Regions from separate parts of the Homo sapiens genome. Here all the other regions are linked to region 1. Evidence: promoter capture Hi-C in human tissues and cell types (Jung and others, 2019). All regions are on one chromosome and are shown on one strand. Each heading gives the region's core, a stretch centred on a gene start or on the middle of the fragment in contact. The rest is flanking DNA. Distances are from core to core; before and after follow the strand shown. Region 1 holds the start of NAGLU (N-acetyl-alpha-glucosaminidase). Region 2 overlaps STAT5A (signal transducer and activator of transcription 5A). Region 3 overlaps STAT3 (signal transducer and activator of transcription 3).

The links. Contacts are between HindIII fragments. The study calls those that stand out against the background at their distance.
Region 2: a contact is called between a fragment that was not itself captured here and the fragment with the promoter of NAGLU in region 1, in 1 of the 25 tissues and cell types used here (thymus).
Region 3: a contact is called between a fragment that was not itself captured here and the fragment with the promoter of NAGLU in region 1, in 2 of the 25 tissues and cell types used here (IMR-90 fibroblasts and adrenal gland).

What each region holds. Positions count from the first base shown.
Region 1 is chr17:42,532,655-42,537,490 of GRCh38, reverse strand. NAGLU (N-acetyl-alpha-glucosaminidase) reads right to left here and starts at 1,250. Exons shown (of 6, transcript NM_000263.4): 1 at 836-1,250; 2 at 1-93. The coding sequence starts at 1,218. It also overlaps the pseudogene PTP4A2P1. RefSeq lists silencers at 748-817, 938-1,347 and enhancers at 207-944, 1,458-1,537, 4,802-4,836. The HindIII fragment of the contact is 7,033 bases long and covers 160-4,836 here.
Region 2 is chr17:42,293,131-42,297,966 of GRCh38, reverse strand. It overlaps STAT5A (signal transducer and activator of transcription 5A), which reads right to left. Exons shown (of 19, transcript NM_001288718.2): 5 at 2,174-2,348. Among named protein-coding and RNA genes, the nearest start is that of STAT5A, 7.1 kb to the right of the region's middle. The HindIII fragment of the contact is 8,359 bases long and covers 1-4,836 here.
Region 3 is chr17:42,337,837-42,342,672 of GRCh38, reverse strand. It overlaps STAT3 (signal transducer and activator of transcription 3), which reads left to right. Exons shown (of 24, transcript NM_139276.3): 5 at 3,264-3,359; 6 at 3,861-3,942; 7 at 4,816-4,836. Among named protein-coding and RNA genes, the nearest start is that of STAT3, 48 kb to the left of the region's middle. RefSeq lists a silencer at 4,820-4,836. The HindIII fragment of the contact is 7,087 bases long and covers 43-4,836 here.

The DNA of each region.
Region 1 (4,836 bases), core at 1-2,500:
AGCGCCATCCAGTCTATCTCTCGCTCCCAGCGGGCCCAGTCCCACCACACGAAAGAGTAGCTTTGCGTGCACACATTCTGGTAATAGCGGTACCTGCGGGCAGTGTCATGAGCAGGGGCGCATCCCACCCTGGAGGGTCCACGGCCCTGGAACAAATCCCCCATCCCCCACCTAGAGGAGAGGGGAGGGGCTCCAAACTCGGCCCTTCTGCTGCACACTGGGACCCACCCCAGGTGGAGCTGAGACCAGGTACCGGGGCTGGGCTTCTGAGGCACTCGTCCCCTGCACTCTCCCAGGGCCCTCTAGCCTGGCGGGTATTTGGGTGGCATATTCCACTTTCATGCCACACTGCCAGAGCCCCTCCTCTGCACGGTGTTTTCCTGGAACGGGGAATCCCTGCCCCCACAGTCTAACAGATGGGCAGGGGAGGACAGCTGTGTGAACACATCACTCCATAGTGTGGCAGGCGCTGGAACACAGGCCTGTAGGGTGGGGGATGGAGGCGTCCTTCCTCAGTCCGCAGGTTCAAAGAGAAGGTGGGGGAGGAAGGCAAGAAAATTCACTCATCACCAATTGTGCACCACAAATTCTATGCCCATCATCGTGCAAATCCTCACAATAACACTGCACGGTAGGCGTCTTCTTTCCGTTTTTCAGGTGGGCCAGCCGAGGCTCTGAAAGGCAGAGTGGCTGGCTCAAGGCCACACAGCTGCTGGAGGCGGCGCAGCTGGGCCTTCCGGCCAGCGCTCCCCGCTCAGCCTCCCGATTTGGGTGGCAGCGGCTCCGGGAGGGGGTAAGCGCCTCGGGCGGACGCGGGGAAGCTTCGGGGCGGTACCTGTTGGGCGTGGCCTCGGTCAGCTCCCCCGGCACGGCTGGCAGTGGCCGCGGCAGGCGCAGCTGAGAGCCGGACCAGGCCACGTGGCAGCCACAGAAGTCGCGCAGGTAGCGGTGCAGCCCCGCGGCGGCCGCCACGCCCGTGGAGCCGCGCACCCGCACGCGCGCCGCGCCGCCGCCGCCCAGGCTGTAGGTGTCCAAGCCCGGCTTGGCAGCCAGAGCGCGCTCCACCGACACGGAGAAGTCGGCCGCGGGGCCTGGCCCCAGCAGCCGGGCCACGAGCGCCCGCACGGCCGCCGCCTCCCGGGCCTCGTCGCCTGCCGCGCCCCCGGCCCCGGCCAGGAGAAGGACCCCCACCGCCGCGGCCACCGCCACCGCCTCCATGGTCTCAGTCCTGCGGGTCCCGCGACGGCCAGGGGGTGGGGCGGCCCGCGTCCAATCAGCTGCCGGCCTCCGGCCACGTGGACCCGAAGGCTAAGCCCGGGCTCAGGGCCAGGAGTCGCGGCTTCCGGGTACCAGGATACTCCCTTGGGGGCGTCTCGTGACCGCACGCGGTGGGGAGCGTGTGACCCCGGCTCCAGGGCCGAAGGGGACCCGCTGGCCCTCACAGAGCGCCTTCGGGTAAAACGCGCTTTCACACGCAAATAACTTCCATCCAACCATCTAATAAATACACATTTGGAGTTTATTTTGTATCAGGCACTGCCATAGCTACTTCCCTACTGATGAACGAGAAGACGGTCCCTACCGTCCCCGTCAGGGAGGTGACCTAGAAACCAGATATTTAACGTAAGTAAGGATTTCCATCATAGTTGTGATGCTGCGAAGTAGTGCAGTAAGTAGCGAAGTAGCGAAGTAAGGTTTCCAAAGGAAGTGACTTTTAATCTGAAACTCAGGGATGAATAGGAATTGGCTAGAAGAGGGAAAGGAAGAGCCTTCCAGACAGAAGAAATGCATTTATTGAAGGCCCTGAGAAGGCAGAGAGCTTGCAGATTTGAGTAACTAACAGGCTAGGAGGTTCGAGGAGGGATGGGGCCATGTGAGCCCAGGCCGGCGGTGGAGCAGGGCTGGCGGGCACGTTAAAGGCTGTCCATTGGCGGCAGCAGCAGCAACATAACAGGAGCTGTCATTTTGTCAGAAGTTTCCAACCAGAGCGACTCCATCTTGAACAGGGGCTGGGTAAAATGAGGCAGAGACCTGCTGGGCTGAATTCCCAGGAGGTTAGGCCTTCGTCACAGGATGAGACAGGAGGTCAGCACAAGATAAAAGGTCACAAGACCCCGCTGATAAAACAGAATGCAGCAAAGAAACTGGTCAAAACCTGCCAAAACCAAGACAGGAAGGTGACCTCTGATCGTCCTCACTGCTCATTATACGCTAATTATAATGCATTAGTATGCTAAAGACACTCCTAGCAGCGCCAGGCAGTTTACAAATGCCATGGCAACGTCCAGAAGTTACCCTATATGGTCTAAACAGTGGAGGAACCTTCAGTTGGGGGGGATCCCCACCCCTTTTCTGAAAAATTCATTACTAACCCACCCCTTGTTTATCATATAATCAAGAAATAACCATAAAAATAGCCAACCTTAGGCCAGGAGCGGTGGCTTACGCCTGTAATCCCAGCACTCTGGGAGGCTGAGGCTTGCAGATCACCTCAAGTCAGGGGTTTGAGACCAGCCTGGCCAACATACAGTGAAACCCCGTCTGTACTAAAAATACAAAAGTTAGCCAGGTGCTGGGCGCGGTGGCTCACGCCTGTAATCCCAGCACTTTGGGAGGCCAAGACGGGCGGATACGAGGTCAGGAGATCAAGACCCTCCTGGCTAACACGGTGAAACTCCATCTCTACTAAAAATACAAAAAATTAGCCGGGCGTGTTGGCGAGCGCCTGTACTCCCAGCTACTCGGGAGGCTAAGGCAGGAGAATGGCGTGAACCGGAGAGGCGGAGGTTGCAGTGAGCCAAGATCACACCACTGCACTCCAGCCTGGGGGACAGAGCAAGACTCCCTCTCAAAAAAAAAAAAAAGAAAAAAAGTTAGCCAGGCTTGGTGGCACACGCCTGTAGTCCCAGCTACTTGGGAAGCTGAGGCAGGAGAATCGCTTGAACGCTGGAGGTGGAAGTTGCAGTGAGCCAAGATCGTGCCATTTGCATTCCAGCCTGGATGACAGAGCGAGACTCCATATCAAAAAAACAAACAAACAAACAAAAAAAGTTGAAAGAGGCCTGGAATCAGATATCAACTTTAGATACTAGGGAAGTATGATTTTTTTTTTTAATCTCAGCTCACGGGAACCTCAGCCACCCAGGTTCAAGCCATTCTCCTGTCTCAGTCTCCTGAGTAGCTGGGATTACAGGCACGTGCCACCAAGCCCAGTTAACCTTTGTAGGGATGGGATTTCACCATGTTGTCCAGGCTGGTCTCGAACTCTTTTTTTTTCTTAAACATTTTATTCATTTTATAGAGAGATTTCTTGTTTGCTTTTGTTCTGATCATTAGGAGAGTGGTTGAGGAGTATTGAATCCATCACTACTTTGATGACACAGGTAAGAGTCCAGATTCACATTTCCAGGTACCAGGAGTTCCCTCTAAATGCCACAATCAAGTCAGCCTTCATTTACATTTCTTTCTGCTGAACACAGCAATGCCCATTGGTATCTCTGAAGCGTAATCGCATCTTAAGTAAAGCAGCTGTTTGGAATTTAACACTCCCCTTCTTTTTTGTCTTATAAACTGAACTGCATCTACGTACTTCATTCCACATTCAATCAAAGCAAGTGCAACCAGCACAGGTGCCCTTCCCAATTCCACAACGCAATGCACTGCAACACAGCAACCTGGCTCTTCACGAAATTTGGTGTTTAACAGGTTTAACCAATCATCTACTATCTGATTAGGGGATGGAGCTCCATCATCAAATGGCCAATCTAGAACGTGGATTCCTTCTTTTTCAACTGGAGCTTTATCATATGTAGCATCACAAACTCAAACCGAAGTCGTCACTCCATACTTCTTAAGTTCCTCTGTGAACTTGTTGAGAGTAGCATTGGTAGGGTTGTGAGTTATCAGAAAACACATGTTCTCATAGGAGATCTCCACAGGGGCTAGACGGTTCATTACGGCAAATAAAAAGTGTGAGCGTGCCTGTGAGTGTGATGGGGAAAGTGAAAAAAAAAATCAATAAATCTTGAAATGTTTAACAACAGAAAACATTAAAAAGACCATGAAAATGCCTATTATCAATCAGTGTTTTCTCTATTCAACTTGTTTATTCCTTATGAAGCTTCTCTCTTCAAGATAAGCAAAGTATTTAGAATCCACTTGAATCCAAATTCAATTTGGGCCTCAATTTCTGCAGATGGATACCTTCGGACTCCAAAAAACCCAACTACATACAAAACTGAAGCAGCCTTTACTACATTTAGGCACTAGTGAGACAAGTTAAAAGTGTAGGTCACTTTCCACTTGTTTACTTGATGCTTAATTTTACTGGAGTCATTCAAAGAAATATGCTTGCAATTAAAAAAAAAAAGCTGGCCGGACGCGGTGGCTCACGCCTGTAATCCCAGCACTTTGGGAGGCCGAGGCGGGCGGATCACGAGGTCAGGAAATCGAGACCATCCTGGCTAACACGGTGAAACCCCGTCTCTACTAAAAACACAAAAAATTAGCCGGGCGCAGTGACGGGCGTCTGTAGTCCCAGCTGCTCAGGAGGCTGAAGCAGGAGAATGGCCTGAACCCGGGAGGCAGAGCTTGCAGTGAGCCGAGATTGCGCCATTGCACTCTAGCCTGGGCGACAGAGGGAAACTCTCTCTCAAAAAAAAAAAAAAAAAAAAAAAAAAAGCTGCCGGGGTGCGGTGGCTCACGCCTGTAATCCCAGCACTTTGGGAGGCCAGGGCGGGTGGATCACGAGGTCAGGAGATCGAGACCATCTTGGCTAACATGGTGAAACCCCGTCTCTACTAAAAATACAAAAAATTAGCCGGGCGTAGTGGCGGG
Region 2 (4,836 bases), core at 1,352-3,851, 240 kb after region 1:
GCTTGAGCTGAGTCAGAAGATGCGCGCACCAGCATGTCTTGGTCGAGCTCCTGGCTGGCCCCTGAGGGCCACGTCACTCTGACCCCAGCCCTGACCCATGGGATGCACAAGCTGGGACAGACAAAAGCAACTCTATGTAGCCAGGAACAGCCCAGAGCTAGAACTCAGAAATATGGCTCCAATCTCACTGCAGGTATCGAGCAGGAAGAGGATCATCCAGGCACGGACAGATCCGAGGTGTCTGCACGGCTACCTCGGGTATCCTGCCCAGCCACAGGGAGGGTGGTGGTGATCCCAACACCTGGGCCCAGCCTTCCTATGCAAGGGACCCACTTAGGGCTCTCCTGGAAATTTGCAGAAGCTTTTAGGAAGGAGGCCAGGGAGACGGGAAGCAATTTCCCTACTCCACTGGAGGCAGCTGAGCCTTCCCTGGCAAAAGCAGATCAATAGTCTGTGTTTCTGCTGAGTGAACTTGACAAATGGGACTGAGAAGACACTGCATGATAGATCCAAACCCAACCTGAATCCAAACCTAATCCGCCACCATGCACAGGAAACAGAAAAGCCAGGCACGGGATCAGAAATACTGTCGACAGTCTAAGGACTTGGGTAGGAATAACCGCCCAAAATCTTCCGTTTCCATTCTCAGAAGGAGCTGCCCTTCTTCTAGGGCCAGTCTGGGATAGATTCAGATGAGGGGAAATTCTCTTAGAATTATCCTGTCAGTATTGGCTGGGCACCGTGGCTCACGCCTATAATCCTAGCACTTTGGGAGGCCGAGGCAGGCAGATCACTCGAGGCTAGAGGTTGCAACCAGCCTGGACAACACGGCACAACCCTGTATCTACTAAAACTACAAAAAAAAAAAATTAGCCAGGCATGGTGGTGCATGTCTGTAGTCCCAGCTACTGAGGAGGCTGAGGCATGAGAATAGTTTGAACCTGAGAGGCAGAGGTCGCAGTGAGATGAGATCGTGCCACTGCACTCCAGCCTGGGCAATAATAAATAAACAAACAAACAAACAAACATTTAGAATTATCCTGCAAGTATTTACATAATAGCTGCAATATTCAGGCATTGTGCTGGTCTCAGTGTACACAAAGCACTGACAGTGCAGGGTTAGGAAGAGAGCTTAAATAGCTACAATAGAATTCTAAAAAAATCAGCTGGGCGTGGTGGCCTGCACCTGTAGTCCCAGCTATGCGGGAGACTGAGGCACAAGAATTTCTTGAAGCTGGGAAGCAGAGGCTGCAGTGAGCCGAAATCATGCCACTGTGCTCCAGCCTGGGCGACAGAGCAAGATTGTCTCAAAAAAAAGAAAAGAAAAAGAAAGAAAAGAAAAGAAGAAAGGTCTAAAATCAATGACCTAAGGTCTACCTTAAGAAATCAGATTAAAAAGAGTAAAGGAAAAAGCAGTTTGACACCCCTTGTTCTCACTAAGATGAGGTGTTACATTTCTGGGGTCAGTCTGGAATGGGACATATTAATAGATGGGCCATGTCCCATGACTCCTCAAATTGTACCTGGGGATAGTTCCTTTCAAGCTAATTTGATTTTTTAATTTCCCCACATCTTTATCATGGGAGCCATTGGCGAACTACAGACCTAGGATACAGGAGAATTTTCTACTGTCACCCCTTCCCCCAGGCCCACATCCTATCCGTGAGGCTCAAGAAGGCCCACTTTGGAAGTTCCACCTCTCCCAGCCTGGTTCAACCAGAAGACTTCCAATCCAAGTCCTCCCTCTGGTTAGGGAGCACTGTTCATATTTACCTATTTGTGTCGATATTTACAGAATACATACCATTAAGGAGAGAATACTGGTTAATAAAGTACAGGAGTTTTATGATATATCTCTAGTTGAGATCCAGTTCTGTAATTTACAGGCAACCTAGGCCAAGTTACTTGTTCTCTTTGAACCTCACTTTTACCATCTGCAAAAGGGGGGATAACACAACTGTTCACTTCATAGGCTTGTTGAGAGGGTTGAATTAAATAATGTGTGCCAAGTGTGACCCACGGCAGGGGCTCAATCACCGGGAGCCATTGCTTCTACCAGGCTTTGGGCAAAGTGCTGAGGAGATGGACACTGACCCAGCTCTACCCTCTAGGAGTCCATAGAATGTTCCTCACTCCCACCCTCCGGATGCACACTGCCTCCACCGCGCCTCACCTTGGATCCTCAGGCTCTCCTGGTACTGGATGATGAAGTACTCCTGAGTCTGCTGCAGTTTCTTCAGCTCATTCTCTGTGTCCTGCGTGACCAGTCGCAGCTCCTCAAATGTCTGGTTGATCTGAAGGTGCTTCTGGGACATGGCGTCAACCAGGATCCCAGCCGGAGAGCTGCACTGGAGACAGATGGAATGGAAATAACTCGGGGAAGAGAGGATGGGAGAAGACCACAGGCATTAGGAAACACCAATACTACAGACCCCAAACCCCAAACCCCAAACTAGGGTAAGAAGGGAAACTAGGGCAAGAAGGAAGGATCATTTGCATCAGAAGGAGTCATTTGCCAGAATTGGGATAGAAAAGGGAAAGAGAAAGGAGAAACAGGTGACCTGGCAGATAACGGCAGATAGTAACACCTTCAAAGTCCAAATATCTATGTCAGAGCTGCCCTCCACTAGAGTATTCCAAACAGGGTCCATCTAATTTCCTCCCAGGGACTAGAACTCAACACGTCCCAGGTGTCACCTGGGTTTTCCCACTAATGATGATGACCCCTCGCTCTACATTTATTTGCTGACTCAATACCATGGACTGCAGTAGATCCTAGGGACATAGGGAGGAACAGGGCTGTGTGAACACACACCATCTCACTTAAGACCCCCTTGTGACTGAAGGAAGAGGGAAGAGGCCGAAACTCTCACAGGCATCCTGGAGACCCCGAAATGAAGTTAGAGGGGAGGCATCAACAAGCTCCCCTTGGATCCAGCCATTCCTTCAGCACATTCAGGAGAATCGCTTGAACCCAGGAGGGGGATGTTGCAGTGAGCCGAGATTGCGCCACTGCACTCTAGCCTTGGCAACACAGCGAGACTCCGTTTCAAAAAAAAAAAAAATAGAGAGAGAGGGGTAGAAACCAGGTCACAAAGGGAGGGAGCACATGGATGAAGAGGAACAAGTCCTCAGAGGCTTTCCAATGAACTGTTCTCAGAATAAAATCCAAACCCCTTCCCATGGTGTCTGCTGGCCATAGCCCTGCCTACCTCCAACCCCAGCTCGCTGGGAATGTGTGCTTTCTGTTTCTGTTCCTTGAACACACAGGCATGTTCCTGCCCTGGGGCCCTTGCACTTATTGTTCCAACAGTCTGGAACATTCTGGCATCAGATCCTCCTGAGGCAAAGCACTTTAACTGGTACCATTGCAGAGGGGTCATCTCTGACGAGCCAATTCACAGTAGTCCTATCTAAAAGTGTGTTGTTCTTGTATTTGCTTACATGTTTCTGTCTGTCTCCCTGCACAAGGATGTGAGGTTCCCAAGGGCTAGGACCTTGCCTTTCCTGTGAACTACAGAATCCCCAAGCCCTAGAATGCCAGGGGTGTTCAGGAACAGTTGTATGGTTGGAGGAAGGAATGAGCTCCCAGACCATGACAGCACCAGCACCATGGACATGGATTTGTCAATGAGGCTGAAGTCATTTTTAGGTTTGCAGATAGCTCTGTGATGGCAACAAGTCAGGGACACAGGGGCTGTGCTGGAAGACCCTTTGTGACCTGGTTTCTAACCCCTATTTTTTTTTTTTTTATACAGAGTCTCGCTCTGTTGCCCAGGCTGGAGTGAAGTGGTGCAATCTCAGCTCACTGCAACATCCCCCTCCTGGGTTCAAGCAATTCTCCTGCCTCAGCCGCCCGAGTAGCTAGGATTACAGGCGCCCGCCACCACGCCTAGCTAATTTTTGTATTTTTTAGTAGAGACTGGGTTTCACCATGTTGGCCAGGCTGGTCTCGAACTTCTGACGTCAGGTGATCCGCCCACCTTGGCCTCCCAAAGTGCTGGGATTACAGATGTGAGCCACCACGCCTGGCCCTCTCTATCTATTTTTATCCATGGCAACTCCCCACTTGGTTCCTTCTCCCCAGTTACACTGACCACTTACAAGTCTTCCAATGTGATAAGAAGATTCATGCCCTCCTGCTCTCGCAGCTGCTGTCTTTTCATTAGAAAATTCATCCCTCCTCTCCTGCCTTTCTCCACTGTAGCTCAGACATGCCTGTCCACAGGACGCTCCCCTGCCAGCCTGCCCCAATCTGAGTTGGGTGCTTTTTCCACCTAGGCCCCCTTAGCACTCAGCTCATCTCTAGAGAATCCATCACTGCCAGAATTCCTTCCAGGCAAGAACCAGGCCTTTATGTGTTTCTCTGATGATAGCCCAGCATCGGACACACAGTAAGACCTCAATAAATGTCTACTGAGTAAATCCTGAAATCCATGTCCACAACAATAAATACGTAATAGGCCGGGCGTGGTGGCTCATGCCTGTAATCCCAGCACTTCGGGAGGCCGAGGCAGGTGGATCACTTGAAGTCAGGAATTCGAGACCAGCCTGGCCAACAGGGTGAAACCCTGTCTCTACTAAAAATACAAAAATTAGCCGGGCATGGTGGTGGGCCCCTGTAATCCTAGCTACTTGGGAGGCTGAGGCATGAGAATCTCTTGAACCCAAGGGGTGGAGGTTGCAGTGAGCCGAGATCACGCCACTGCACTCCAGCCTAGATGATAGAGTGAGACTCAGTCTCAAAAATAAATAAACAAACAAACAAATAAAGAAAGAAATAATAAATATGACCTGTGCTCCGGTCACTGTTCTAAGATTTCTGTCACGTCATGT
Region 3 (4,836 bases), core at 2,337-4,836, 200 kb after region 1:
CCTCCAATGGGAGTGATAACAATACCTTCTTCATAGAATTAATTCATACATGTAAAATGCTTAGAACAGTATCTGACACATAAATGCAAAATAATTTAACTGCTTTCTGCTGCTGCTGACATCACTATCATCACCCTCACCATTACTGTAGGAAATGGGGACCCAGTGAAGAATTTTTTTTTTTTCTTTTGAGACAGAGTCTCACTCTGTCACCCAGGCCGGAGTGCAGTGACGCGATTTCGGCCCACTGCAACCTCTGCCTCTCAGGTTCAAGCGATTCTCATGTCTCAGCTTCCCAAGTAGCTGGGATTACAGGCATGAGCCACCACACTGGGCTAATTTTTTGTATTTTTAGTGAGATAGGGTTTCACCATATTGGCCAGGCTGGTCTCAAACTCCTGACCTCAGGTGATCCATCCACCTCGGCCTCCCAAAGTGCTGGGATTACAGGCATAAGCCACTGTGTCCGGCCCTAGTGAGGAATTTTAAGCAGAAAACTGATATGCTCAGGTGTGAGCGAGGTGGTAGGTAACACTTACTGTGCAGTGCCCTGTAGCCCAAGAGGTTAGCACACAGGCATTTGCTCAGGCAGCACTAGGATTTTCTGCTGTGGAAAACCTTTGTATTTTATCCTGCTCCACAAGATAAAAATAAGTGGTTTAAGTCAATTTGGATAGAGGCTCCAACTTACCATGGGAGGTAGGAAAGCCAAAGTTATCCCAAGGATGTTTTCAATCGTACGGATTAGGGGTCTGCAAACTGTGAGCGTGGCCCAAATCCAGCCTGCTGCTTGTTTTTGTAAATGAGGTTTTTTCGGAACCCAGCCACACTCATTTATTTATGCATTATCTGTGGCTGCTTTGGTGCTGCAGTGGCAGGGCTATTTGTGGCAGGGACTGTATGACCCAGGAAACCAAAAATATTTACCCTCTGTCCCTTAGAGAAAAAGTTTGCAACCCCTGATATAAAGCTATAAGTTGGTTATTTGTGGCCTCAACCCAGGCCTCACTGCTATTTTTTCTGTTTACAATACCTGGCATGCTCTTAAGTGTCTAGAATTGGTTAAAGATAGAAGAGTGGATGTAATCCCTGCTACCAAGGGCTGTCAGGCTAGTTGGGATTATAAGTACACAAACACTCAAAGTGAGAAAAACACAGAAAAGGATGTGTGTCATTTTGTCTAAGGAAGTTGAATAAGATTTCTCAGGAAAAGAAACATTTGAACTGAATTTGAAGGTGAGTGAGTTCAGGTGTGTTTGGGCTGAAGCCCAGGCCATGCTGAGTGGATAGCGGGTGGGAAGAGAGTGTGGAAACACACTGCATGCAGGGAAGAGTTGGGAGTCTGGGGTGACCAAGGCACAGGGAGGGAAAGTTGAAGTTATCAATTGTGTGAAACAGCTTTCTGTGTTGGCCTGAGATGTTTATAGCTGGAAGCAGTGGGGAGCCAATACAGTTTTTTACGAAGGTATTAGAGGTGGGTTTCTGTGGGTGATCGTTAATCATGTTTTCTCCCTTTAAGTGTAGTCCTGCTTGAGAAATAGACATGAGAAAGGAATGAAGGTTAAAACATCAGCTGTATTGTTGGTAAAACTAGAATGGAAAGTGTGGCTTGAGCTGGTAACCATAGGGGCTTTCCAATGCCTGTGCCCTGAGTTAGATCTTGGGGTAGAGAGACTGGATGTGCAGAGCAGCACCCCCACCCCACCCCAGCCATCCATATGGAGCTTCAGCTGCCATAGACCAACAAGGCAGAGGGATAGGCCTCTAGACCTGCTTCTAGAAACCAGGCTGCTGCTCTTGCTTATGGTGGGCCCTAGGAAGGCAAGAGTGAGAGGAGGGAGGCACCAGCTTAGGTGCTGGGTTCTTTGAAGATCTGTGTGTACACAGAGTCTTTCTCTCCATCTTACCAATCAGATGAGTCACTGTCACTGTGGGAAGAAGTAGGGGCATGGGTCACCTTCCCAAAACTTCTAAGAAGTTTGTATTCTGTGGGCTTGGATAGGGACCATGGGAAAGGAAGAGAATGGTTGCCCATAAAACTGGCTGTAGTGTGGCCTCAAACTTCTGGACTTAAATGATCCTCCCACCTCAGCCTCCCAAGTAGCTAGAACTACAGGTATATGCCACCATGCCCAGCTAGTTAAAAAAAAATTTTTTTTTTTTTTTGGTTGAGATGAGGTCTCTTTCTATGTTCCCTGGGCCGGTCTCAAACTCCCAGCCTCAAGTGATCCTCCTGCCTTGGTTTCCCAAAGTGCTAGGATTATAGGTGGGAGCTACCATGCCTAGCCCAAGCCTGTAATTTTTTTTTTTTTTTTTTGAGATGGAGTTTCACTTTTGTTGCTCAGGCTGGAGTGCATGGCGCAGTCTTGGCTCACCACAACCTCCACCTCCCGGGTTCAGGCGATTCTCCTTCCTCAGCCTCCCGAGTAGCTGGGATTACAGGCATGCACCACCAAGCTCAGCTAACTTTGTATTTTTAGTAGAGATGGGTTTCTCCGTGTCGGTCAGGCTGGTCTCAAACTCCTGACCTCAGGTAATCTGCCCACCTTGGCCTCCCAAAGTGCTGGGATTACAGGCATCAGCCACCGCACCTGGCACGAACCTGTAATTTTTAAGTTTCATATGCTATTTATTTTTTGTTATTTCTTTAATTCATTCATTCATTTATTCATTCGAGATGGGGCCTCACTATGTTGACTAGGCTAGTTTTGAACTCCTGGCCTCAAGCAGTCCTCCCACTTCAGCCTTCCCAAGTGCTGATATTATAGGTGTGAGCTGCTACATCCAGCCTTCTTTCTTCTTTTTCTTTTTCCATGTGCTATTTGACATTTTCCAAGGTACCAGCCTCCCCTTCTCCCCAAGATAATATCTTTTAATATGGAATTTCATCCCTAGGGCAGGACTTTTTTTTTATTATCCCTCAGAAATATACTGGACACCACGTTTAAGTAGACATCCAACATCTGCTGTCATAAATTGTTTTGAATTTTTTGACATACTTGCCCATGAGGTTTTTGAAGGCATAGACCATGTCTTAGCTGAACATGTGGTCTCTTAGTGCCATAAAGGGGGTTTATGGTATGACCTGTGTAGTGTCACCTGTGTAGTGACAGCACCACTGCCTCTGTTTCCCTTCCTCTTGTGATGGCAGCAGCGTCTCAAGCCAAACAAGAAGGGTAGTTAGGGTGGGATGGAAGCTGGGTAGAGGTATTCCTCTCCCCATAGTTCTGTGTTCACATGTGCATTGACCTCCTTTTTGGCAGCAAGGGGGCCAGGCCAACCACCCCACAGCAGCCGTGGTGACGGAGAAGCAGCAGATGCTGGAGCAGCACCTTCAGGATGTCCGGAAGAGAGTGCAGGTGATGCAAGTTACAAGCCTCGGGCAGGGAGCTTTCATTAATTTTTTTTTTTTTTTTTGAGACAGGGTCTTGCTCTGCCACTCAGGCTGGGCTGCAGTGGCATGATCACAGCTCACTGCAGCCTCGACCTCTCAGGCCCAAGCGATCCTCCTACCTCATCCTCCCAAGTAGCCGGGACCACAGGCATGCACCACCACGCCCAGCTAATTAAAAAAAAAAAATTTGTAGAGATGGGGGTCTCCCTGTGTTGTCCAGGCTGATCATGAACTCCTGGGCTCAAGTGATCCTCCCAACTCAGCCTCTCAAAGTGCTGGCATTACAGGCGTGAGCCACTGCACCTGGCCAACAGGGAGCCTTCTCTTGGGGATACTGCCTGCAGGTCCTGCATGTATCTTTTTTGAGGTTTTGGCTTCATTTGAATTCTCCTCAGAAACTTTATATTTTCTGTTCCCAAGGAAATCTTTCTTTACTTCTGTTTTTTTGTTTGCTTATTTTAAACAGGATCTAGAACAGAAAATGAAAGTGGTAGAGAATCTCCAGGATGACTTTGATTTCAACTATAAAACCCTCAAGAGTCAAGGAGGCAAGTGAATATTAGAGATGTTAAAATCTCTAGAAAGTGAGTTTGTGTTGTTGAGTTGAAAGACTCATTTGTCTTAACTCTGTTTAGATCTTAAGGCGGGCGGGGCGCAAGGGAGGTACGGGTCCTCAAAGGAGCCTGGTCATTAAGGACAGGAGTATTCCCTCAGGTCCAGGAGTATTCCCTCAGGTCCAGGAGTATTCCCTCAGGTCAAGGAGTATTCCCTCAGGTCAAGGAGTATTCCCTCAGGTCCAGGAGTATTCCCTCAGGTCCAGGAGTATTCCCTCAGGTCCAGGAGTATTCCCTCAGGTCCAGGAGTATTCCCTCAGGTCCAGGAGTATTCCCTCAGGTCAAGGAGTATTCCCTCAGGTCCAGGAGTATTCCCTCAGGTCCAGGAGTATTCCCTCAGGTCCAGGAGTATTCCCTCAGGTCCAGGAGTATTCCCTCAGGTCCAGGAGTATTCCCTCAGGTCAAGGAGTATTCCCTCAGGTCCAGGAGTATTCCCTCAGGTCCAGGAGTATTCCCTCAGGTCCAGGAGTATTCCCTCAGGTCAAGGAGTATTCCCTCAGGTCCAGGAGTATTCCCTCAGGTCCAGGAGTATTCCCTCAGGTCCAGGAGTATTCCCTCAGGTCCAGGAGTATTCCCTCAGGTCCAGGAGTATTCCCTCAGGTCCAGGAGTATTCCCTCAGGTCCAGGAGTATTCCCTCAGGTCCAGGAGTATTCCCTCAGGTCAAGGAGTATTCCCTCAGGTCCAGGAGTATTCCCTCAGGTCCAGGAGTATTCCCTCAGGTCCAGGAGTATTCCCTCAGGTCAAGGAGTATTCCCTCAGGTCAAGGAGTATTCCCTCAGGTCAAGGAGTTTTTTCTTCCTTCGCAGACATGCAAGATCTGAATGGAA